4 separate regions of the Homo sapiens genome follow, and regions 2, 3 and 4 are each linked to region 1. The links are contacts of gene promoters, found by promoter capture Hi-C in blood cells and fetal thymus (Javierre and others, 2016). All regions are on one chromosome and are shown on one strand. Each heading gives the region's core, a stretch centred on a gene start or on the middle of the fragment in contact. The rest is flanking DNA. Distances are from core to core; before and after follow the strand shown. Region 1 holds the start of CMPK2 (cytidine/uridine monophosphate kinase 2). Region 2 has its middle 160 kb from the start of LINC01304. Region 3 overlaps CPSF3 (cleavage and polyadenylation specific factor 3). Region 4 overlaps LOC124907728 (a long non-coding RNA gene).

Region 1 (5,738 bases), core at 1,244-3,743:
ACTAATCAGTTAGTGTCATTGCCTATAACTAAAAGGTAATATTATCTTACCCGTGGCATCCAGTCCTTCGATGGCAACAACCTGGAACTTTCCTTTCTGGATCTGTTTTGGGCACTGGTCGACCAGGTCAAGCACTGCCCGGGCTTCAGGAATAAAGGAGGTACACTGTAAAACAACGTCTATCCATCAGCAATGAAGCCAGGGGGCTTTTGCAGAAATCACACCTAAATTGCTGAGCACAATATTGCCGCATGCTAATAAGGCCTAAGTTATACTGAGCACTGTGCCAGGCCATGGGAATTCAGAGTATTTCGATGCTAGGATGGACTGGAGTGTTTTATTTTATATTGAGCAGCCGAGGCTCGAAACAGCTGTCCCTGTCTGGATCGCTTGGTGGCCTGCAGCCTTCACTGAGCAGCTTTGAGAAAGGCCAGGCAAGGCACATCATCACAATGTCCTGTGACACCGCAACCATGGAACTACAGGCCCGCTGGGAACACTGTCTCACAAGAATGGGAAATCAGCTGCACAGTGGGCTGGAGAGAGCAGTCTTCATCTGCAGCATGTCCTCTCCTAGCCATTCAGGGGGCTGAGATAAACAGCCAAGCACTGCAATCATGAAGCTGGCAGAGCAGCGTCCCCCTGGGAATTCCCAGTTCCTCAATGTGCATTATCTCACTGCACGCTCACAGCATCTCAGAGCGAGGCTCAGACACTTATGTGCTTGCTCTGAGCATGGCAATCTTCTAAGTGCTTTACAAGTATTCAGTTGCCAATCTCTGTGAACTGGGGTGGGGGGGTGCTATTATTATTCCCACCATATGAATTAAGGAAACTGAGGCAGAGAGTTGAAGAAACTTGCTCAAAGTGACACAGCTAATAAATGCCAGAGTTTAAATTTAAATACACGTGGTTGACCTTGCGCTCTTAACTGCTCCACAACGCTGTCCCGTAAGCTTGGAAAATATTCCCAAGATCCATGGGGGCATCCTCAGGGCTCATCTGTGTCACAGGAGGACATCTGCCTAGCCTGCGATCAGAAAGAATTTTCAGTCTCTTTCTGTGGGTACCTGCTGTGAGTCAGATGTTTCCTTAATCAGGACAACATCGCAAGATGGGAATTGTACATGTCAAAGGGCAAAACTTAGAGTAGTTGAGTAACCTGCACAAGGTTCATGGCCAGTCGGTAGGTAAACACTATTTAAGTCTAAATTTCTTAAACCCCCTAAACTCATGCATTTTCTTTTTCACCCCAAGATCCTTGAATGGTGATCATCAGCAAATAAAATTACTTCCCAGCTGACATTATTTTCCCTCACTCCCGGCAGCCCCTTTACTCCCTCTGTACTGCTGTTGGGATGCTTTTACAGCAAGCATCGCGTGGCTTGGTGTAGGTCTATGTTCCACGTCAGGTTGGAAGATCCTTGCAAACAAGAATCTTAAAAGAGTTGCCTGGCATACAGGACACCTTCCCTACCTGATTTGTGAACGGAAATAAACAAACCACCCAGGCAAGAACCGGCTCTACAGACCAGCCTCTTGGTCCAGTTCTCTGGTCTGAAGGGTTCAGATGCCACGCTGGGAGCTGGAAGCGGACAGAACTCTTACCTCCTCCAAAACGGCCCGGGCGGCTTCCCGGTCCGGGAAGACCACGGAACTGGGCAAGTCTGGCACCACCGGGTGCAGCGGGGGCTCCGGGACGGGCACGACCTGTGCGCAGCCCACCTGCAGCCGCCTGCCGTCTTGCACCTCCCAGAGGCGCTGCCACAGCTGGCCGCGCGGGTCGGCCTCGAACTCGCCCAAGTGCGGGCGTGGTGCCTCCTGACAGGCGCCCAGCAGCTCGAGCAGCGCTTGCCGGGTGTCAGGGTCATCCAGGGGGTCGCGCAGCAGGAAGCCTTGCTGTGCGCCGCCGGCCTGGCCGCCCGGGCAGTAGCAGAGCAGCCTGAGCAGCTGGCACCGCTGGAAGGGGCCGCGGCGCAGCTGGTGCAGCAGGCGCTGGTGCAGCCGCGCCGCCCGGACCCGGGCCCCGCAGCCGGCGTCCGGGGTCACGGGCACGCACAGCGAGTAGCTGCGCTCCGGGGGCCCCAGCAGCGCCGCCAGGCGGGGGTCGGGGGCGTCTGCGTCGCCGGGGGCGTCGGCGCCTAGGGCGAAGTGAGCCAGGGTGCAGTCGGGAAGCTCCAGGACGAAGCGGCGCGGCGGAGCCATGGCCCCAGCGCAGACCCCGCGCCGCCCGAGCAGCGGCCCCGACAGTGGCCCGCGCAGGAGCCGGCGGGCGAAGGCCATGGGCGCCTCAGCGACGCCGCCCTCGGCCCCGCCTCGGAAACGAAACCTGGCGGGAGCCAGGCGCCGGCGGGAAACGAAACCCGGAGGGAGCCAGGCGCCAGCGGGAAACGAAAGCGAAGCGTTGCGGGGAAACGAAAGCCGGAGGCCCAGGCGGGGCAGGAGCCCTGGGGCTGGGGCGCCCTTCCGGCCTCTCCTCCTCGCCGCGAGATGTGCGCGATAAACGGCCGGCGCTCGGGAGCAGACGCTTGGCCCCGGGGCCCCAGGTGCGCGGCTCCGCGGGCCTGCGCGGTCCCCAGGCGCCGGCTCCCGGGGCTGACACCGAATGAGGCCCCGCGCCGTCGGCCCCAAGGTAGCTCCGTGTGCGTTCTGCGGGTGGCTGGCGGCCCCGACCCTGGTTTGAGTTCCTCCTCTGCGGCTTATGCCGGGTGCATGGAGGGGGGCGGGGGTGCACGCGCGAGGGACAGAGAAGTCCCTTCCCGGTGTAACGGGCTCTTCAACGCCCACTTGCAGGCGCACTACTGCCCTTGGATGACTGACCAGGCCCTGCAGACCATGGGCTCCCTCCCCGACCTCAACTCCTAGCTCTGACCACGCGTCCCCGCCCCTCTAATCCTGCAGAGCTGCTTTCCTGCGGGAACAGGGCGCAGTTCTGGCTCTTCCCTCTCCTGTATCTTATCTCACCTGTGCACTCACTCACCTGTGCACACACTCACCTTTGCACACACTCACCTGTGCACAAGCTTTTCCCTCTTCTTGGAATTGCCCTCTCCCTTTTGCTGACTCTCCAACTGGGAAGTGTCGCCCAGATTGGCACCTCGAAATCGCCTTTCTTCCACCAAATTGAAGTTTCCTGCACTAAGGTGAAGTGTGTCAGGATAGCACCCTCTGCCTGCCACAGTCCAGCATCAGCACTGTTGCTGCCTAACAGTGTAACTGCCTAACAGTGTAACAGTGTTTGCGCAGTTATTTGGATATTTTATTCTGTGTTTACTCATTAACTGATGCCTTTTAAAAATGATGTCAAGCAAACCAAAAACAAACAAAAAGATAATATTCTCCAGGGAAACTCTCTCAAAAAAATAGAATTGAGACGAAGATTGAAAACATTAGATGAGCTGAAAGCAGTTTTTTTTTTATGTCTTAATAGTATTGGACTTAAACTTGGGATTATATTTAATTCTGAAAAAAAAAGTCTTAACAAACGTGAAATATAGATAGGTGGTTGGAGTGTGGGTTAATAGGCTAAGAAGAAAGAAGAATTAGGAGTTTAAAATTTTTTAGCTCTTTGAGAATAGAATAGTTTTTATTCTTTCTCAGGAATTTCACTTTTGGACATTTAGCATGTACCGGTGGTTTCACGTGTATGTAGTATATGGAAGTAAGAGTCTTCTAGTTACTCCCTTTTCTTCTCTAAGACAGTACTGCATCCTCAAGCCTGCTTGACCTTTTCCCTATGCCATCCACCTCTCTGGATGTATTAGTCTATCCTGGCTGCCATAACAAAATACCACGGACTGGGCCGCCTAAACAATAGAAAATTTGTTTTCTCAAAGTTCAGGTGGCCAGAGAAGCTGGAGATCAAGTTGCCAGCAGGGTTTGCTTTTTCTGAGGCCTCTCTTTCTAGCGTGCAGACCGCCTCCTTCTCTCTGTGTTCTCACGGGACCTTTCCTTTGTGCTTGCATCCTTGGCGTCTCCTTGAAGTTCCAAATTTCCTCTTCTGGGAAGGACACCAGTCAGATTGGGTTAGGGCCCATCATAATGTTCTCATTTTAATGTAATCACCTATTGAAAGCCTTATTTTGAAATACAGTCATACTGTGAGGCACTGGGGGCTAGGCCTGAGCATGAATTTTGGGGGACATGATATAGCCTATAACCCCCCACATATCTGGGTTAGTAGCCTCTCCTGTGTCCCCCACCAAGGCTATTTGTATCCTCGGACCTTGACACTCCACAGTCACGTGCCAGTCTATTTCCCACCACTGAGCACCTTGAGGGTAAGTAGGAAGACCAGCTTCTTCCTAACTTTTCTCTGAGCCTCCAACTGAAAGAAAACCTGACACACAGTTTGCTAAATGAAGCATCTTACCTTTTTTAATTTAAGTTTTCCTCTCTATTTTTCACCTACCTTCGCCCTACGAAGAGATGTAAAGTTAATAACACTGCAGTATTTGGGCTTAGTCAATATTATATAAGTGTTGAAGATGTTGAAGATATATCTTCATTCATAAATAAAAATTTCTGTTAGATTTTCAAGCCCCTTCAAATTTGTAGGACAGAGACTCTGAGAGCCACAGCTGGATGTTTATATTGACTAAACATGCCTGTAGCCACCCATCGTTGCAGGTGGAAAGGAGAGAAGCTGCAGGCTGGGAAGATACTTCAAAGAGGTGTCTTTAAATGAATGAACAGCACAGCTATATCATAGGAAAAGCCATAATCTTCAACACTTACAGTATTAAACAAGAGAAAATGAAACTTTTCTAGCCATTCTGCTCCTAAGAAAAAAAGAAACAGAATGGGAGAATTAAAAATATAAATAGCAATTAATAAATAATAAAATGAAAAAATAACACTTTGAAAAAGAGCTTAGTTTTTGAAAACATGTTTAAACAGATATGTTTCTAGGTAGTTTAATTCAATTGGAAAAAGAAAGAAAATGCAAATCAGAATAGGAATAAATGAGATGATAGAACCACAAGTTCAAAAGGATACCCAAAAGAGAATATTACAAACAATTCCACATTCATAAAAGTGAATATTATAAAATAAATGATGAGCTCAGAAAATAAGAATTAATAAAATGAGCCCAGGATAGAATGTTGAGTCTATAACTCTGTAACCCAAATCCTAGGCTAGAAGTTAATGAAAGGGCTAAAAAGCACTGAGCAAGTTTCAGAGATCACTTAGTTATCAAGGAACAGATAAGCTCTCTCCCGCATAACCTTCTGTTTCTTTTTTAAATAAAAATTCATTCTAGCAATTTGTGGGCTTACAATTTGAAGAGTATTCTCCTCTCTCTTGGAGTTGGTTTTCTCACAAAGAAATGCTGTTGATACAGCTACCTTTGAGGGAAGAGTTGCCATAACAGGTCCAGCTGCTCACCCCTTGCATATCTCCACAGGAGCCTCAAACCATGATTGCTGTTGGGCCAAACTTTGGAAAGATGACCCTCCAGAGGCTCTTTATATTCATGGTTGGTGATTCTGTTATGTACACCTGGAGCAATACTCCATGACATGCCAGCTTGCGATCATTTTGCACAAACGTCAAGATTAACGATGTGCACCTCATTCATTGTCGGGGTCCTGAGATTTGGTTACTATAGCTGGGCACATGGCAGGATGTGCCTGCATATCTAGCCCTTCATATAATGGCAGACCCTGAGACTCAAACAGGCTTTTCCTGGCCAGTGGTTTCAAACACGTCCTGGTAGTTCACTGCTGGAGGGAGCA
Region 2 (5,738 bases), core at 1,020-3,519, 2.7 Mb before region 1:
ACATCTTTATTACTGTCTACTTAGAGTTGATATTATGCTACTTTATTTAAATAAAAAAACTTGTTCATTTTTGTTAAATTTATATCTAAGTAGTTTATTATTTTGAGTCTACTGTACATTAATATTAAAAATTTTATTTTCTTTATTTTGCTGGAATGAGAAATACAATTTCATTTTGTATATGACCTCTTAATTGAAGATACTTTAAGTTTTTCTACATAGACAATTACAATAGCAGTAAATAAAGAAAAATAAGCCAGCTTAGTGACTCAGTGTATTTTCTAATGAAGACTATAGTTCTTCAGACTGAATAGATCAGGCCAAACCTTAGTGGTCATTGTTAAGGTCACACAGCCATCGCCTGAAGGTGACCTGACAGTGGCTTCTGGTTTTACCCGAATTCCAATCCATGTTCCTTATGGATTTTTTTAGTGATGGCATAGGTAAGTGAGCTGGAAATCTGAGGCCACTATCTATGTCTCTCTTGAAGGATGAGTTTTGTTGTGAGCGCTCCTCAGTGATGGCCTGGGTACTTCTAGAGCCTATCTGAATGAATGATGTACAGAAACAGCTTTGCTGAGAGGAGGGAATTTTTTCTCCTTCATGTCCTCTGGCATCTCTTTAATCAGCCAGAACTGTAAGAAAGGTTCATCACATTTTCTTTCTTTACTGAGCCCATTAACCTACATGTTGCAAGCTGTCATGTCAAATGATTACTAGCAGATTATGGTAACAGCGACCCTGTCTTCCGGTAGTTTAGAGGAGCTTTGCTTTAGATTAAGCAGAGCAAATGGCTAATTGCTGCAACCTCTTCTTCTTGTGAGCAGATTTTATAAAGTCATCTGGGAAAGGCATGGCCTGACAATAAAGCTTGATCTCCATGGACTAGGGCCAGGAAAATGTAGAATATCTTTAGTGATATGGAGTGGCTTCTGAAATGTTGAACATTAATTCCTTTTAAATACCATACTGAGTAGAAAAAAAACTTTTTTTAAAGTTTTTCTATATAGACAATTACAATAGCAGTAAATAAAGACTGTTGGACTTCTCTCTTTCCATATGCTACTTCCTTTTCTTGAATTGCACTGGTCAGGCATCTCCAATGCAGCTTTTGTGTTGGTGTTCTGTATCTACATATAATCTGTGCAAACATTATTAACCCCATATACACTGTTATAAGTATTGCTTTAAGCAGTAATATGTCTTCTAAATAAATTATGGAAAAAAGAAAGCCTATTTGCAATCTTTTATATTTGCTGAAATATTTTCCAATTCTGGTGCTCTTTATTCCTTTATGTAGATCCATATTACCATCTTCCTGATGTCATTTATTTTAGGCCTGAAGAACTTCCTTTTAGGAATTTCCAAGTTCAGGTTTATTGGTGAATAATCTCAGTTTAAAAAAATCTGATGTGTTGTTTGCAACCTCATTTTCCAGGATATTTTCCATTAGCTATAGATTCATTTTTGTCCTTAAAACTATGTTCCATTGTCTTCTGCCCTACATCATTTATGATGAGAAGTCATCTGATACTCCTCTCATTCTTTTCTCTAAATGAAAAGTGTTGTTTCTCTGTAGGTAAACACAAGATTTTCTTTTTAACTTTGGCTTTAGCAAATTTATAGTTTAGCAATAATTATGATGGGGACAGTTGTGGTTTTCTTCTTACTTGCTTAGATTTCAATGAGTTTTTCGACTTATTGGATTATGGGTATCACTATATTGGGAGTTTTTTTTCAGCCATTGTTTCTTTGAATATTTTATTTTCTTACTCATTGTATCTTTCTTCTCTTTCTTGGGTGGCAACAGCACATATGTTAGGGTGCTTGACATTTTCCCACAGTTTACTAAGACTGTGCTTATTTTTTGTCATTGTTAATATAGCTCTGATTCTCTCTGTCCTTCAGAGTGTGTTATTACTGTTCAATCTTCAAGTTCACTTATTCTTTTTTCTGTCACTCAGTCTGTTGTTAAGCCACATGACTAAAAATCTCCTATCAGATATTGTGCTTTTCACTTTAGAGTTTCCATTTGGTTTCCTCATTCATTCATTCTCAAATATTTTCCTATAAATCCTTAAACATATTTATAATACCTGCTCTAGAGACTTTGCTCAACATCTGCATCCTTCTGGGTTTAATTTCTATTGACTTATTTTGCTTGATTTTTGGTCCTATTTTCTTGTTTCTTCCTATGCCTAGTGATTTTGGATTGTAATTTGAACACATGTGACACATTGTGGAGACTCTGGGTTTTTGTCCCCTTGAAGTGTGCTGAGCTTGTTTTAGGAGGCAGTGAGCTCCTCTGAACTCAGACTCCACCCTCTGGCTCTTCTGCAGTTGGCAGCAGCTGAAATTAACCCTCAGTTCTTCACTTTCTTGCTGCTTCATTTTGTTGGGCTCCATGGAGCATCTCCCACTGCACCTGTGTATTTAGCAGTCCACCAATGAGTTGGGCAGAATTTATGTGCATGTTTTAGTGCTTCCTCTTCAGTGGCTCCCTCTCTTTCAGGATTTTACCCTAACTTTCTTGATGCTCTTTCCAGAGCCACATGTGGATGGGAGAATGCCCTTTAGCAAAAAGCTGCAAACTCATAAACCTTTCCATTGCTTTCCCATATTTCAGGCATGGGTTACTATCTTTTACATGCCATCTTTGGATGTCTTGAAAAAATCCTCCAGTTATTGCCTGCCTTTTAAATATTTTGTCTAGGTTTGATGATTGTCTCTGTAGCCAACCCACTCGTCTTGACTACTTGCATCTGGGCCCTTCTGAAAGATTATGAAGATTAAGTTCTTCATATTCCGCTATTCTAAAGGTACAAAGGTCAGCATCATCATAAACATTGCCATCATTTACTGTTTAATTAAACTTGAGGAAATTGTGCAATGTGCCTATGTTTAATATACAGATGAGTTGCAGCAATAATAATATTCTGTACATCACTCACTGATGCAGGCTGTGTAGTGGACCTGCAAAGATGCCCACATCTAAGTCCCAGAACCCATGAATATGTTATCTTACATGGTAAAAGAGCTTTTCCAGATGGGACTCAGTTTAGGATCTTGAGATAAGGGATGCTGCTGCACTTTCTGGAGGGGACCAATGTAGTCTGAGGGTCCCTCTAAGAGGATGCAGAAGGTCAGTATGAGGAGAAGGCTAGGTGACAGCAGAAGCAGAGAGAGGCCGAGTCAGAAAGAGAAGGTGCTCCTTCTGGCTTTGGCAATGGAGGAAGAGACCATGAGCCAGGCAGTGCGGGTAGCCTCTGGAAGCTGGAAAAGACACAGAAGTGGATTCCCTCCTGGAGCCTCTGGAAAGAATGCAGCTGTGCTGATACTTTGCTTTTAGTGTAGGAAACCCACTTCAGACTTCTGATCTCCCAAACTGTAAGATAATACATTGTATTGTTTGAAGCTAATAATTTTGTGGTATTTGGTTATGGCAGTGATAGAAAACTGATACAGTCACCAAAATTATTTTATCAGTGGCATTTTATAACCTTCATTTCTAAAAATGGCATATATCTAATCATTTGTACATATCCCTAAAGCAACTTATCACCTATGTATTTTTATTATTTCTAATTTTGTATTCAGATCAGTTTCTTATTAAAGATTATCCCATTGTGAATTTCTAGAGTGATTGAAGATGAGGTCAGCTGTCTTGAGAAGCTTTACTGGAGGACAGAGGAAGCTTCCTTAGATGTTATCTTTGGCTTTCTTGGAAAACCCTCAGAGCACTCGCCTGCCTGCTCTAGAGTTGCTGGTAGTGCATTTTCAATTATCTCTTAAGGGGCTTATAATTCAATCTTATTTGACAACCTAAGTGGAAGCTTATACATCACTTAATATTTATATCTTATGTTTTTTCTCCTTATGTTTCCCCTTATACTATAAACTGTTTGTAACAAAGCCAGCATTATAATTTTATTTTTATTTTTAGTGCCTAATTCGCAGAGAGGACTATTTGCACTCCACAAGTTTCCTGTGTGCAGGTGGCATCATGTGACTCTCCCGGCTGCTGGGACATGAGAGCACAGAATGTGTCCCCTTCAGGCCACAGTGGGGTGTCTGTGCACCTGGCACACATGTGGTGGCTTAGAGACCATGAATGGCCATGTTGGCAATGGAGGGAGCCTGGATTCCTCACACTGTTTGGAGCAGAGCCTGTGAGGAACATCTATACCAGACTTCGTATAGCAAGAGAAAACTTTAATTTTGTTATTCATTTTGACATTTTCAGACAGCTGTTAGAGCAGCTGTTTTATCTTTCTCATGGATACATTTATCAATAGGAATATGCAATCATCAGATTAGATCAGAAAGACTAGTTTTTGAGAGTTGCTGCAATAGCTTAGCCCTGAATTGTGGAGCATCTCCTGTATGCTGGGCACTCTAGCATACACCCTTTAAGTCCCCCTGCCATTCCTACGTTTGCACAGGAGTCCAGGCCTCAATAAGATGAAGGAATTCACCCAAAGCTAACAACCAGAAATGGATGGAATTGGAACGGAATCTAAAGCCATGATTTTTCCCCGGCAACACACTACGTTTAAGGGTTTAAAATCACGGACTACTGTAATAATTCGTTCAACTCCTCTTTTTACAGAGGGCCATGGAAAGTAAAAGGAAGCAACGTTAGTTTCTTGATTTTTTAAAAATTTTGTGCACAGTGCAGTTAACGGGGGGCCATTTGACAAAGTCTGGAGACACTTTTTCTTGTCAAAAGTGGGAGGTACTCCTGGCATTTGGGAGGTGGAGACCAGGGATGCTGCTGAACCCTACAGTGCACAAGATGGCCCCTTTGACAGGGAAGTCCCGTGTCTCCATATCTAGCCCCAAATGTCAACAGTACTGAGGTCGAGAAACTCTGTTAAAGGTCATTCAACCACTGCATGGCACAGAGGGAATTCAAATCCATGGAATTACTACTATATAATGTGTCTCTCCAAAAAGGCTCATTATCACTGACCAAGAAACTTGGGCTCACTGTTTTAACTGATTAGTTGGGAAACTCAAGAGATGCATGATGGAAAAATTTAAATACTTTGATCTTTATGAGGCTGTGAGCTCTTAGCGTTCAAGAATGAAAGACATTTCTTATTGGCTTTTCAATGTCTAGCAACTGGCACATTACATAGTATGTTCTTACTGACAATTTGTTAAATTAATGCATGAGTCATAAAGCAATTTTTGGTGCCCCCAAAGTTGATACTAATGACAGCCACTTTTTAACTAACTTAAGAAAAATATTTTATCAAGTATATATTTTTCTGATTGACATGAAAGATAAGCCTGTGAAACTCCTCTCAGTCCTCCAGTGGGATGCCCCGTGCCTTTAAATGAATTTTACTGTTGGTCTTTGAGTGCAGTAGGCCCCATTTCCCCTTAAAATTGTGGGCTGCATTTCCTCTTATGCTGTATATTTATAGCTGCTGCCTCCTAATTTCTTCTGAGTCTTGTTATTCTTGGCAGCTGTTGTCAAAGAGTATTCACCTCTCCCCTGGGTGTTTTTCTAAAACAAAAATAAAATAAATAAGGGTTTCTCTGTGCCTTGGTCTTTTGGATCATCTTCCCTGCTGCTCCCCAGCAAGGTCTAATTTGCTAGTCTGGATTTGCTTCCGTTGGTAAAAAGAGTCTCTTTTGCAGAGGTGCTTCCTTAATTGGCATTTTTTTTTGTTGGGGCTTGGGAAGCTGGTTCTTCCCACTCACCCCCAGTTCACTAGTGTCCCCACGTG
Region 3 (5,738 bases), core at 2,138-4,637, 2.6 Mb after region 1:
ACTTGCCGTGAGTTTCGATCTTCTCAGCTCAGGCCCTAGTAGAATAAGGAAGGTGTAAAGCTGGAGAAGAGAAAGTGCAGAGGTGTTAGGGACAAAAACTCAGCCCTCGACTGTCCATAAGGAGAGTGGCCTTTCAGTGGACACGATCCTCATCAGTCGGGAATGCTGCTGAAGGGGAGATGCAAATGTAGAGAACTTGAATTCCTACAGATGAGCATTTCGAACCCACAACATGTTTATTGTTAGATACTAGTTGGCACAACATGAATATACGCTTTCCAAAAGGTAGAAAGTATCTCCTTTACACAATCATTCAGTAAGGCTTCATTGAGCACCTGCTTGGGACATAGTCCGTTTCCTTCTGCTTAGTTCACACCTGTCATGTCTTCCTGTGATGAGCAAACACTGAGCAAGTGTCAAGCACCACACATGGGGATATAGACGCAACAGAGGGCCCAGTTAATTGCTCTCGCTCTTTTGGAGAGAATTACAGTGCACAGTGGGAAATATTGGAGAGATACTTTGGAATAATAGGAGACTATTACTTTGAAGTCAGACCTGAAGTCCATTATCTACTTGACCAATTAGTAGGACAACAATCTCACTGAACCCGTTTTCTCATATGGAAATAAGATAAAACTTGAAGAGTGAACATCGCGGTAGGTGCTTTGTAAATAATAGCTAATCTAAGAACGCAGGCAGGCATTGCACTGAGCACTGTGAAAGTATGGAAAAGGGATTTCTGACAGATTGAGGAAAAAAGGATACCTCGTGGATCCTGAAAAATGTGATGCCTGAGCTGAGTCCTAAAGAATGAGTAGGAGTTAAAGACTGGGGGGCCCAGGATGTTCTAGGCAGTGGAAGTGGCACATATGAAAGTGAGAGTGGTCACAGCTTGTGGCCAGATTCCTCATGGCTGTAGCTAAAGAGTTGAGTTAGCAGATGAAGCGACAGGCAGTTGAGGTCCAGTTTAGGAAGCACCTCGTATACACAGGAGTTTGGACCTTTATCAAGTCAATTACAGGGAGCCAGCGAAGGCTATTAAGCAAGCATGGATATTGTGGGAATTATGTTTTAGGAAAATCTCTCCTGGCAGCAGTGTAGCAGATGAATAAAAGCATGGATGAATAAAAGCATGGATTGAGTAGAGCAGATTCAGTGAGATATTGAAAGATTCTAAGTCTAGCTGACGAGAGCCTGTAGTGAGTGATGTGAGTGTGAGAGAGTATGCAAATGAGATCTTCAGGATTTTGTGGCTGATCAGCTGTATCTGGAAGGGTGGTTGTGGGGAGGGAAGGCAGGGCAGAGAGGATGTTATGATCAGATTCCTAAGTTTGGCAGTTGGGAAAGGGTAGTGTTATTCACTCAAGGAGTATAAGAGATGGGGCAACTCTGGAGTAAATTTGGGAATTTGGTTGTTTCGTAACAGCTTTATTGAGATACAGTTTACATACCATACAACTCACAATTTACATACCATACAACTCATTTAAAGAGTATAATTCAGTCGTTCTTAACATAGAGTTATACAACCATCACCTCTCTCTAATTCCAGCACATTTTCATCACTCCCAAGAGATACCTTGTATTCATTAGCAGTCATAGACAATCCCCACTACCTCTCCAGCCCTAAGCAACCACTAATCTACTTCTTTATAGATTTGCCTGTTCTGGACATTTCATGTAAGTGTGATCATACAATACATACTCTTTTGTCTCTGGCATCTTTCATTTAGCATAATCTTTCCAAGGTTCAAAATTGAGGAGTTTTGTTCATTCAATAAGTATTTTTTGTGATGTGCTACATGCCAGGTACTGTAGCAATACAGCAGTGAATAAGATGGACAATGCCTCTGTTCTTAGGAAGCTTTCATTTAGTAGCCTGAAAGAAGACATAAGTAGGTACAATAACTTCATGTAGTTGTATTAAGATAACTGATGCTGGGTTGTGGCTTGCTGTGAAGGGCAAATTAGAGGAGGTAGTCAAGGGAAAGCATCTGAGAAGGTGACGTTGGAACTGAGACCCAAATGATACAAAGGAGCCAACCACATCAATATCTGAAGACAAAGCATTTCAGGAAGAAAGTAGAGCAAGTACGGGGCATGTGGTGGAAACTAGTTTGGCATCTTGAATATGAAGTCCCGGGAGAGATCCTAGTAGAGATACCTAGTGTCACGTGTATGTATTAAAGGTCTAGAATTCAGAAGAACAATCTGGGTTACAAATACAGGCTTGGAAGTCCTTAGCATGTCAGAAAGATGAGAATGAAGATTGAGAAGTTGGCCAAGGAGCAAACCCTCGGAATATCAACATTTAAAGGGTAGGCAGAGGTGGCTGAATATGTGAAGGAAACAGGAAAGCCAGCAAGACAAGATGAGAGCATCAGGTCAGAGAAGCCAAGGGAGAGGTGCTTGAGGAAGGAGCAGGTACTCCTTAGGAGTGACAACGGCTGCCAAGAGAACAAGATAGGGACTGACACCTATAGTTCCAGCTACTTGGGAGGCTGAGGCGGGAGGATCACTTGAGCCCAGGAGTTGAAGGCCAGACTGGGCAACATAGGGGGACCTTGTCTCAAAAAAAAAAAAAAGACTGAAATGACTACTGAGCAGCAAGGACAGTTTCAGAAAAGTGATTGGTAAAAGCCAGAGTATAGCGAATTGAGGAGCGAGTAGAAGGTGAGGAAGTACAAGAGGGTCCACTGCCCTGGGAGGTGGTCTGGGGAAAGAATAAAGTGGGAACTAAAGGAGCTTAGAGTCAAGGGATTTTAATTTGGGGATGAACATGGCTGTAGTATGTTTAAATTTGGATTGGATGGTAAAGAGCAGACAGTGAGGAAAATGTCAATGACACAGCAGTGTTGAGTTCCTCAGAAGGAGGGAGGGAGTACGTAGAGTAGAATGGTGGAAAGTTTCATTGTGGAAAGAGAGGTCTATTCTATCTATAGAGGAGAAATAGAAGGAGACAGATGTGGGCAGGTTGGTACCCTGTTGGTACATGTATTCTTAATTATTGTACCAACATGAAGTTGAGGAAATTTACAAATGGACTGTTTATTTTTTTGATGCAGAAGATGGCCCATGCCTCAAGTGAAGAAGAGGATAGAAGGTTGGAAAATTTGGGAAAGGGAAGAAAGTTTGAAAATAGTTGATATGGAAATGAAATGGAGAAAACAGCCAGGCAACATTGAGGGCCAGTTAAAGTGGAAGGCCAGGGTATCCACAATAATTACAAATAAAAAATGTTTAAAAAGTGGAAGGCCAGGAATTTATGGCGGCTCTCATCCACAGTTGTTTGATCTTCTGTATCAACACCTGTTTGGAGGTAGGATCTCAGTTTGGGGATAGATCCATTGCATGTCCATCTGACTGAGTTCCTTGAGGTCAGGGTCCCTGTAAGGCATTTCCATGTCCTAGGCACTTAATCCAGTGCTTGGCAAATAGAAGCTGCTTAATGTTGAGTGAGTGAGTGGATTGTGAGCTAGAATGGTTGGGAAAAGGCATCAAAGAAGGTGAGGGATTTGAAAGATGAGGTTTAACTTAAAGTGTGCCTTGTGACCATTGCAAATTATGGCTGAAATTATTAAGAAGAAACAAAAATTATGTAAGTAGTTGGTATAAAATATGCTGAAATAACAGAAAGTAGAAGAAAAAGTGATTGAAATTCACAGTATGAATAAGTATTTTAAAAAAAAAAATTTTTTTTTTTTTTTTTTGAGGCAGAGTCTCGCTCTGTTGCCCAGGCTGGAGCGCAGTGGCGCGATCTCAGCTCACTGCAAGCTCCGCCTCCTGGGTTCACACCATTCTCCTGCCTCAGCCTCCCGAGTAGCTGGGACTACAGGTGTCCGCCACCACGCCTGGCTAATTTTTTGTATTTTTAGTAGAGACGGGGTTTCACCGTGTTAGCCAGGATGGGTCTCGATATCCTGATCTCGTGATCTGCCTGCCTCGGCCTCCCAAAGTGCTGGGATTACAGGCGTGAGCCACCGCACCCGGCCATTTAAATTTAAGCCATTTGGCAAATACACATTATGATCTTAAAGAAGATGACAGTGTTGAAATGCTTATGGCTTTCTACTTAAGTGCTAATTCTAGAAGTATTATTATATAATCTGCGTAACTGCTAGTTTACATTTTAAATACATTATAATTTAATCCTAAAATTCAGAAAATTGAATTTAAATCAAGCCCAAACCTTTGGGCTTCTTGGATCTGTACCGCCTTCTCTCTTAATTTTAAGAACTGCAAGATCCCTGGACTCCCAAGGATCAGTTTTCATCTGTTCTCATGTGGACACTGTTCTTCCCTGTCTTTGTGATTTTGTAGAACTCTCTTACGTCTCAGAATTTTTCAGTGAGGTGCTGTCATCAGATGGCATGTAGTGTACATTGTAAAAAAGTGTAAGTTTATTGGACTTGGTTTTGATTTTTTTTAATCCTTCTTTTTCTCCCCTTGAATATTTACAGTGGAGCTGGGCAAGAAGTAGGAAGATCATGTATTATTCTCGAGTTCAAAGGAAGAAAAATAATGGTAATTACTATTTTTGTACTCAGTTTAATAGTATGGCTCTGTCTGTATTGGGTGTTAGTCTTTTCTCATAGACTAGTTATCTTTTTAGCTCCCAGAAAAATGTTATAGTACATGTAATCTATGCTGTATAGTGTTAATGAGAAAAACTAATACACACTTCTACTTAGTAATTTAGTTGATTAAGAAGATATATTCTATGACTGTAAAATTGTCAGCTAGATCTGTTGAACTGTTACCTCTTCAAAGTCCCTCTTCCACTCCTGAAGGGTTGAGCCAGCCTAACTGCCCCACCCCCAGTGGAAGATCCCAAGGGCCCAAGCACTCTGAACACACTGAGAGCTCTAGCCGCCTCCAGCATGTGGGGATCAAGCCTTGGCCTAGAAGCTTGGATCCCCAGGTCCCACTGGGGCTGCCGGCCTTGGCCAAGTCACTTTGCTTCTCTAAGCCTGAAAGGTAGAGGGGTTAGAGGAGATAGTTTCTAAGGTACTCATTAGAAAGTCAGTTCTGTGTCTCAGATTCCTTTGATTCCTCTTTCTTCTCAACTCCTCCCAATCTGAAAAGAACATGTATAGGTCAGACATAGTCATCCTTTTAGTCATCTGTTTTGTTAATTTGGTAGTAACGCCATAAAAATAAGTAACTTTAATGACTGAGTCTTAAGAATTTGTTCCCTAATGCCTTAAAATATTTAAATTACCCTGATCAGGTAAGTTTCCCATTTCTAATTATTATCTTCTCACGAGAGTCGATCTGGTAGTAGTAAATCTATAAACTTTTAAAATTTTAATCTGATATCAAAGTTTTTGAAAAAGATTTAATTCGTTGTTAGAATGACGACCAAAAGTAGCTGGAAAGAAGCTGTTTTGTACTTTGCATCCTGTGACCCCTAAATGTGAGCTATATTTTAAATTTGTTGGGAAGTTAGAATTGTTAATGGCATATTTGCCACATTTAATAAGAATCATGTTCCAAGTGCTAGTGCCTGGAGTCCATCTTGAGTATATGGGTGATGGAACTAGAATTATTGCCTATTTGCCGAATGAATTTTAATAAAATGTGCAGGAGATTGTGATCTCTTTTCCTGTTTCTTTCAGCTCGACTGTGGGATCCACCCTGGCCTAGAAGGAATGGATGCTCTTCCTTATATTGATTTAATTGACCCAGCTGAGATTGATCTCCTATTAATTAGTCAGTAAGTTTTTCCCTTTATT
Region 4 (5,738 bases), core at 1,509-4,008, 2.1 Mb after region 1:
ATATTAGAAAGAAACCATTTTTTTTTCCTTTTCTTCACTTTAGAAAAGTAGAGGAAGCGCACAGGTGGCTGAGCATACAAACTGAAGAAAAAATTGAAATGCCATTTTAAAAACTTGAAAGGTGGGTGTTGGGAACATATTGCAACCTAAAGTAAGCAGCATGGAGATACAATCTCAGAGCTAGAACAAATAATGTCTGCAGAAAGGAGTTTCCTTAAGCTAAATTTTTATTTTAGTCAGACATGACAGAACATAATCTGTATTTGGGGTAACTACATGAAATTATTTAATATCTAGAATGGTTGAGCGCTGTGGCTCATGCCTGTAATCCCAGCAGTGAGCTGTGATCGCACCACTGCACCCCAGCCTGGATGACAGAGTGAGACCCTGTCTCAAAAAAATAAATAGGCCAGGCATGGTGGCTCACGCCTGTAATCCCAGCACTTCTGGGAGGCCAAGTTTGGTGGATCATTTGAGATCAGGAGTTCCAGACCAGCCAACATGGTGAAACCCCGTCTCTACTAAAAATACAAAAAAAATTAGCCGGGCATGGTGGCAGGCACCTGTAGTCCCAGCTACTCAGGAGGCTGAGGCTGGAGAATTGCTTGAACCCAGAAGGAGGAGGTTGCAGTGAGCCGTGATCACACCACTGCACTCCAGCCTGGGTGACAGAGTGAGACTTTGTCTCAAAAAATATAAAGAAATAAATTATATATATATATAGAGAGAGAGAGAGAGAGAGAGAGAATAGGGAAGATTTTAGCCATCTGGGAAAATTTTGCTGTGTCAGAGTTACAAAACTATAGGTAAAATATAGTATAGTAGTAATAATAGCTTAGATTTTGGAATCAAACACACCTAGTCTCTTCCATTTATTAGCAGCAAGATATTGGGCAAGTTATTTAACCTTTCTAAGTCTCCATTTCCTCATGTAAAAATGAGCGTAATAATGGCACCAACTCCATAGTTTATGAGGTTATAAAGGTGTACTTATATGAAGAGCTCAGAACAGTGCTTGGTGCATGATAAAACTTAAGAAAGATTATATTAGAGTTCTCCAGAGAAACACAACCAATAGGAGATAGATATGGTTTTGCTTCTCTGGAGAACTCTAGATAGAATAGATAGATAGATAGATAGATAGATAGATAGATAGATAGATAATAAATAGATATGGAAATAGATAGACAGAAGTTTATTATGAGAGATTGGGTTGAGATTATGAAGGCTGAGAAGTCCCACGATCATCTGCCATCTGTAAGCTAAAGGCCGAGGAAAGCCAGTAGTGTAGGTCCAGTCCAAGCCCAAAGGCCTGAGAAACACAGGAGCCAACAGTGTAGTTCAGTTTATGTCCAAAAGCCTGAGAACCAGGAGCAATGATATCCGAGGGCAGGAGATGATGGATGTCCCTGTTCAGAGTGAATTCACCCTTCCTCCACCTTTTTGTTCTATTTGGGCCCTCAGCAGATGTGATGACGCCGGGGTACGTGGGTGAGAAAATCTTTACTCAATGTACCAATTCGAATGCTGATCTCTGCAGGAAACATGCTCAAATACACATTGAGAAATAATGTTTCAATAGCTCTATCTGGGCACCTTTTAGCCCAGTCAAGCTGACACATAATATTAATCCAAGAAATTTAGTATAATTCTGAAAATGGAAACCATTTGTTTCGTATTAAATATACTACCTCTTCATGTTTTTAATGAAGAATTGAAGCTGGCATTTTAAGCTGATAACTCATTGATGGTAGCATAAACTGTGTGCAGGCCATACAATTAGCCTGACCAGTATCTGCTAATTATACCAGAAGCTCTTCAGTGGAGACAAAAGAGAAAAGAATTAAACTAATTGTATATAATGCCTCACTGCCCTACCTTGGGTAACATCCATCCTATAAAGAGCAATTCTTGTGTTAAAACATTTATTGACCACTTACTATGTTCAAGGAGCTATGTGGGGTGACGTAAAGGATAAATGATGCCTGTAATCAAAAGAAGAAAACAGTCGTATTCACAAATTCACATGTTACAAGAAAAGTATCAAGGAAGTTTCTTTTTTTAATGTTAAAATCAAAGGAATATGTCTGTAAGAAAGAAGCTTAGCTTGAAGTTAAAAGACCTGAATTTTAACCCTAACTTTTCCACCAGATAGCTATGAACTTTAGAAATTGGCTTAGCTTCTCTGTGCCTTAAGTTTCCCATTGTTAAATATGAATAATGGTAACTGTTCATCCTACCTCATAGGAGTGTTGTGACTATGAGCATGAACTTAATCATAGACTCAATTATTTTTAAAGTTACTAGTACTGTTAGTCTGAGAAATAATAACTAGTAGTAAAGGGATTTCAATATAGCAGCCACATTGTTAACAAGAGTTACTTAGACAAAGGCACAGGAGCACCAGGCAGCATCCACGTGTGGTAAGATGGCAGTGCGGCAGTGCTCTTGTCCTGGGTTCATTGCCCTCGCCTCCTAAAATCGCTGTGATCATTAAAGATTGCTAAAATGAGATGTTTCCTTCCCAACTTATTTTTAACATTGAAGAAACCACTGGGAAGAAATGAATAATCTGCCAAGCTGCTTTTGTTTTGTAAAAATAGTATGTGCCATGAAATTCCATCTCTCAGGCAATTATTTTGCCTATTCTATGTTCCTATACCCTGGAATAATTTTGATGGATGAAGAACATTGAACCATACACATAATAACAACCCAAGTTAACTAGAGGGGCATCTTTAAGCACTTGCAAGCTAACCTTAGCCTGAGACTAGAAAATGGAACGAGAATGTCACCCTTTAAGACCTAACATAGTTCAATTAGGAAATCACAAAGTAGGCTGAACAAGAGGTAGCAAACACAGTAGGAGAAGTCCTGGCTCCACTGTATTCTGGCTCCACCACGGACGTGGACTGTACCAGCAAACAAATCACTCATCTTCAATTTCATTGGGAACATGTTAAGAGATTTGTTAAATAAATGATTTCAATTGTCACCTCTTCCTCTAAAATTAAATGATTCCCAAGAATTTTTGGGACTTTCTCTGTCTCTGTGAGACCACAGTCTAGGTTTAAATTAGGCTAAAAGATGCAAATGAAACTATTACTCATCAGTTTGGGAATAGCACTGCTTTCTAATTATTCCACAGGTTCCAGGACTACCTCAAATGTATTACGTCTCTAATCAGTCTTTCTCCTTAAAAATGCCTATTATTTCTTGGTGGACTGCAAAGATTTCTGTTTTATATCTGCGCATCTTGGGAAACATTTTATTTTCCTCATAGATTTATTTGGCATTTTTATCTTTATATGATTGAGTCAAATCTCAATACAAAGAACACCCCTTTCATGCTTATTTATTACAACATGAGCATGCAGCCTCCAACCCCTGATTCCTAGGTACAGAAAAATAAAGTTCAAGCTTTTTCATGCTTTTGCATATCTGCATAATAGTTTTTGTGTCCAAATTATGAAACACCTTAAATATAAATTGCTGTAGCCTCCCCAGGGTTCATCATAATCACCGTCACCACTAGCAGCATTTATTGCATCTGCTGGGGTCACTGCACTGGGGAAGAAGGCCTCATTTTCTCAGTTCGCCTAATATTCCAGGTTCTTTCTGTTTATCTATAATTGTAAGAAGAGTTGCCCTTCTGATACATGTTGACATATCACTGTTCTGCTAAACAGTGTAGTCTGGCTACTAGGGGAGGAGTTACACCCACCCTCTTCTGCTGCCAGCTCTGTGACAAAGAGAAAGCTGTAAGTTATTCTCCAGCCTGCTGAAGAGTTTTGTGTAGTCCCCAGCAGCCTATCACTTTCAGCAGAATTCCCTCTTTAGAAGTAAATGTGTCAAACTGCATATTTTGTTATGGGTATTTTATGCCTAAACCCTTCCTCCCTTATTGTCATTTTATAGATGCTGGGTTTTGGTCCACAGATTACAATACCAGTGTCCTAACTAATGTCAGAGTTCTAGCCAGTGAAAAATTAGAAATGAGAGTCATCTCTTCCCATCATGTCTGGGGTTACCACATCTAACCTGGTTCTCTTGCCAAAGAACTTGCTCTCCAGGATGGATGACTCTGGATAAACATGAGTTACCTGCTAAGGAATGGCCTTATAATCAGATGATAGTCTGGTTTCAAGCTCATCAAATTATCTTTTAATTTATTTTCCATTTGAAATCAAATAGTTATTCCCTCTTATTTACATTCTCATCTAGGCCTAAAATACTGTTTATCACAAGACAGTTGTTATTAAAACCACAAAACATTAAGTTTAAAGGTAAACCTATCATGAAAGAGATATTGTTCCCAAGGAAGCTTAAACCAATTTATTATTAAATTTACAAATAATGGGTTGCCACTTCCAAAGTGAAGATGTAGATCAGGTGGAAATAACACGAAAGGAGGGTCCTTTATTAGATACTTCATCTGAAGTTTTGTCCTTAACTTTGTTGAGGCATCGGGTGGGGAGGGTTACATTAATAGAAAGCAATAGATAAAGAAGTTGGGCACTGGAATGAGAAATGAGACTGCCTTAAGTTCGAGGCCTTCTTATTTGATTTGGGGAAAGTTACTTAACCTCCTTGGGCCTCAATCTTGTCATCTATAAAAAGGGAGTAATAATGATTTGTTGTGGTGTTCAAATAATACACTTAATGCTTGTCACATTGTAAGTGCTCAATAAATATTAGCCATCATCACCTTCATCAGCAGCAGCAGCACCTTCATCATCATCATCATCACCATTATGTCTTACAGCATATGGTTACATTTATCATCATAGGTACCATATGCTAGATAGAAGGGTAGATTAAAAACAAGTTGTTACATGAGCACAGGGAGGGGAACAACACACACTGGAGCCTGTCGGGGGTTGGGGGATGGGTAGGGGGAGCATCAGGATAAATAGCTAATGCCTGCTGGCCTTAATACCTAGGCGATGGGTTGATAGGTGCAGCAAACCACCATGGCACACATTTAGCTATGTAACAAACCTGCATGTCCTGCACATGTATCCCAGAACTTAAAACAAAATCTAACAAACAAACAAACAAAACATAAGTTGTTGCTTTAGTCAGCTTATTCCTCCAGATTGAGGGGGAAAAAACACTGAGGGCTAAAATATAGGGTATAAAGAGTACGTTAAGTGATTTAATAAATTCCTGGCCTACCTCACCTGAAAGCATTAACAGAGTTTTGCACTTAACGGAAATAAATTGGGCGACAACTAGTTTTGAACATTTTCTTCTTAAATGCTGGAATATACTGTGGTTAGATATTTTGCTTTTAACTGTTAGTATCTATTCTGAACCTTTACAACCTACACAGTAGGAAAGGGATTTTAAAAGGACAAACAGTAACTCATATAAAGATTTCATGGATAAGAACTAAGCAATTGAATGCATAATTTATAGTTTGGAGTACCATATTACTTTGTGGCACATTTAAAATTGTTACTCTGATTGATTATTTTGAAAATTCCAGGCACCATTAGATTTCATCCCTCTGCACAGTATTTCTCTAAATACCATCTCTGAATCCACAAATATTTATCTTTTTTTGGTTAGCATCCAGCTGGTAACCAGTAAAATGATCCTACATTATTCTAGGACAGGAGCCAGGAACTTGGTCTTATTGCATAAAGCTACTCTATTCCTCTTTGTGTGAAATATATTCCACTACTGGTCCCTAGATACTTATTTAAGAGAGCACTTAAAATCGCTCCCTTTGG

What was found. The method cuts DNA at HindIII sites, captures the fragments that hold promoters and counts their contacts. A CHiCAGO score of 5 or more calls a contact.
Region 2: a contact is called between a fragment that was not itself captured here and the fragment with the promoter of CMPK2 in region 1, in 2 of 17 cell types (M0 macrophages and M1 macrophages). The highest score is 5.1, in M0 macrophages.
Region 3: a contact is called between a fragment that was not itself captured here and the fragment with the promoter of CMPK2 in region 1, in 1 of 17 cell types (total CD8 T cells). The highest score is 6.6, in total CD8 T cells.
Region 4: a contact is called between a fragment that was not itself captured here and the fragment with the promoter of CMPK2 in region 1, in 2 of 17 cell types (fetal thymus and monocytes). The highest score is 7.3, in fetal thymus.

What each region holds. Positions count from the first base shown.
Region 1 is chr2:6,863,414-6,869,151 of GRCh38, forward strand. It overlaps CMPK2 (cytidine/uridine monophosphate kinase 2), which reads right to left and starts at 2,494. Exons shown (of 5, transcript NM_207315.4): 1 at 1,609-2,494; 2 at 51-165. The coding sequence starts at 2,283. It also overlaps a transcript of RSAD2 not described here. RefSeq lists silencers at 1,805-2,244, 2,485-2,754 and an enhancer at 2,265-2,484. The HindIII fragment of the contact is 2,067 bases long and covers 955-3,021 here.
Region 2 is chr2:4,129,323-4,135,060 of GRCh38, forward strand. No RefSeq gene overlaps it. Among named protein-coding and RNA genes, the nearest start is that of LINC01304, 160 kb to the left of the region's middle. The HindIII fragment of the contact is 2,802 bases long and covers 869-3,670 here.
Region 3 is chr2:9,424,302-9,430,039 of GRCh38, forward strand. CPSF3 (cleavage and polyadenylation specific factor 3) reads left to right here. Exons shown (of 18, transcript NM_016207.4): 2 at 4,464-4,527; 3 at 5,622-5,719. Among named protein-coding and RNA genes, the nearest start is that of CPSF3, 3.5 kb to the left of the region's middle. The HindIII fragment of the contact is 3,044 bases long and covers 1,866-4,909 here.
Region 4 is chr2:9,005,426-9,011,163 of GRCh38, forward strand. LOC124907728 (a long non-coding RNA gene) reads left to right here. Exons shown (of 2, transcript XR_007086199.1): 2 at 44-3,438. Among named protein-coding and RNA genes, the nearest start is that of MBOAT2, 4.6 kb to the left of the region's middle. The HindIII fragment of the contact is 1,319 bases long and covers 2,100-3,418 here.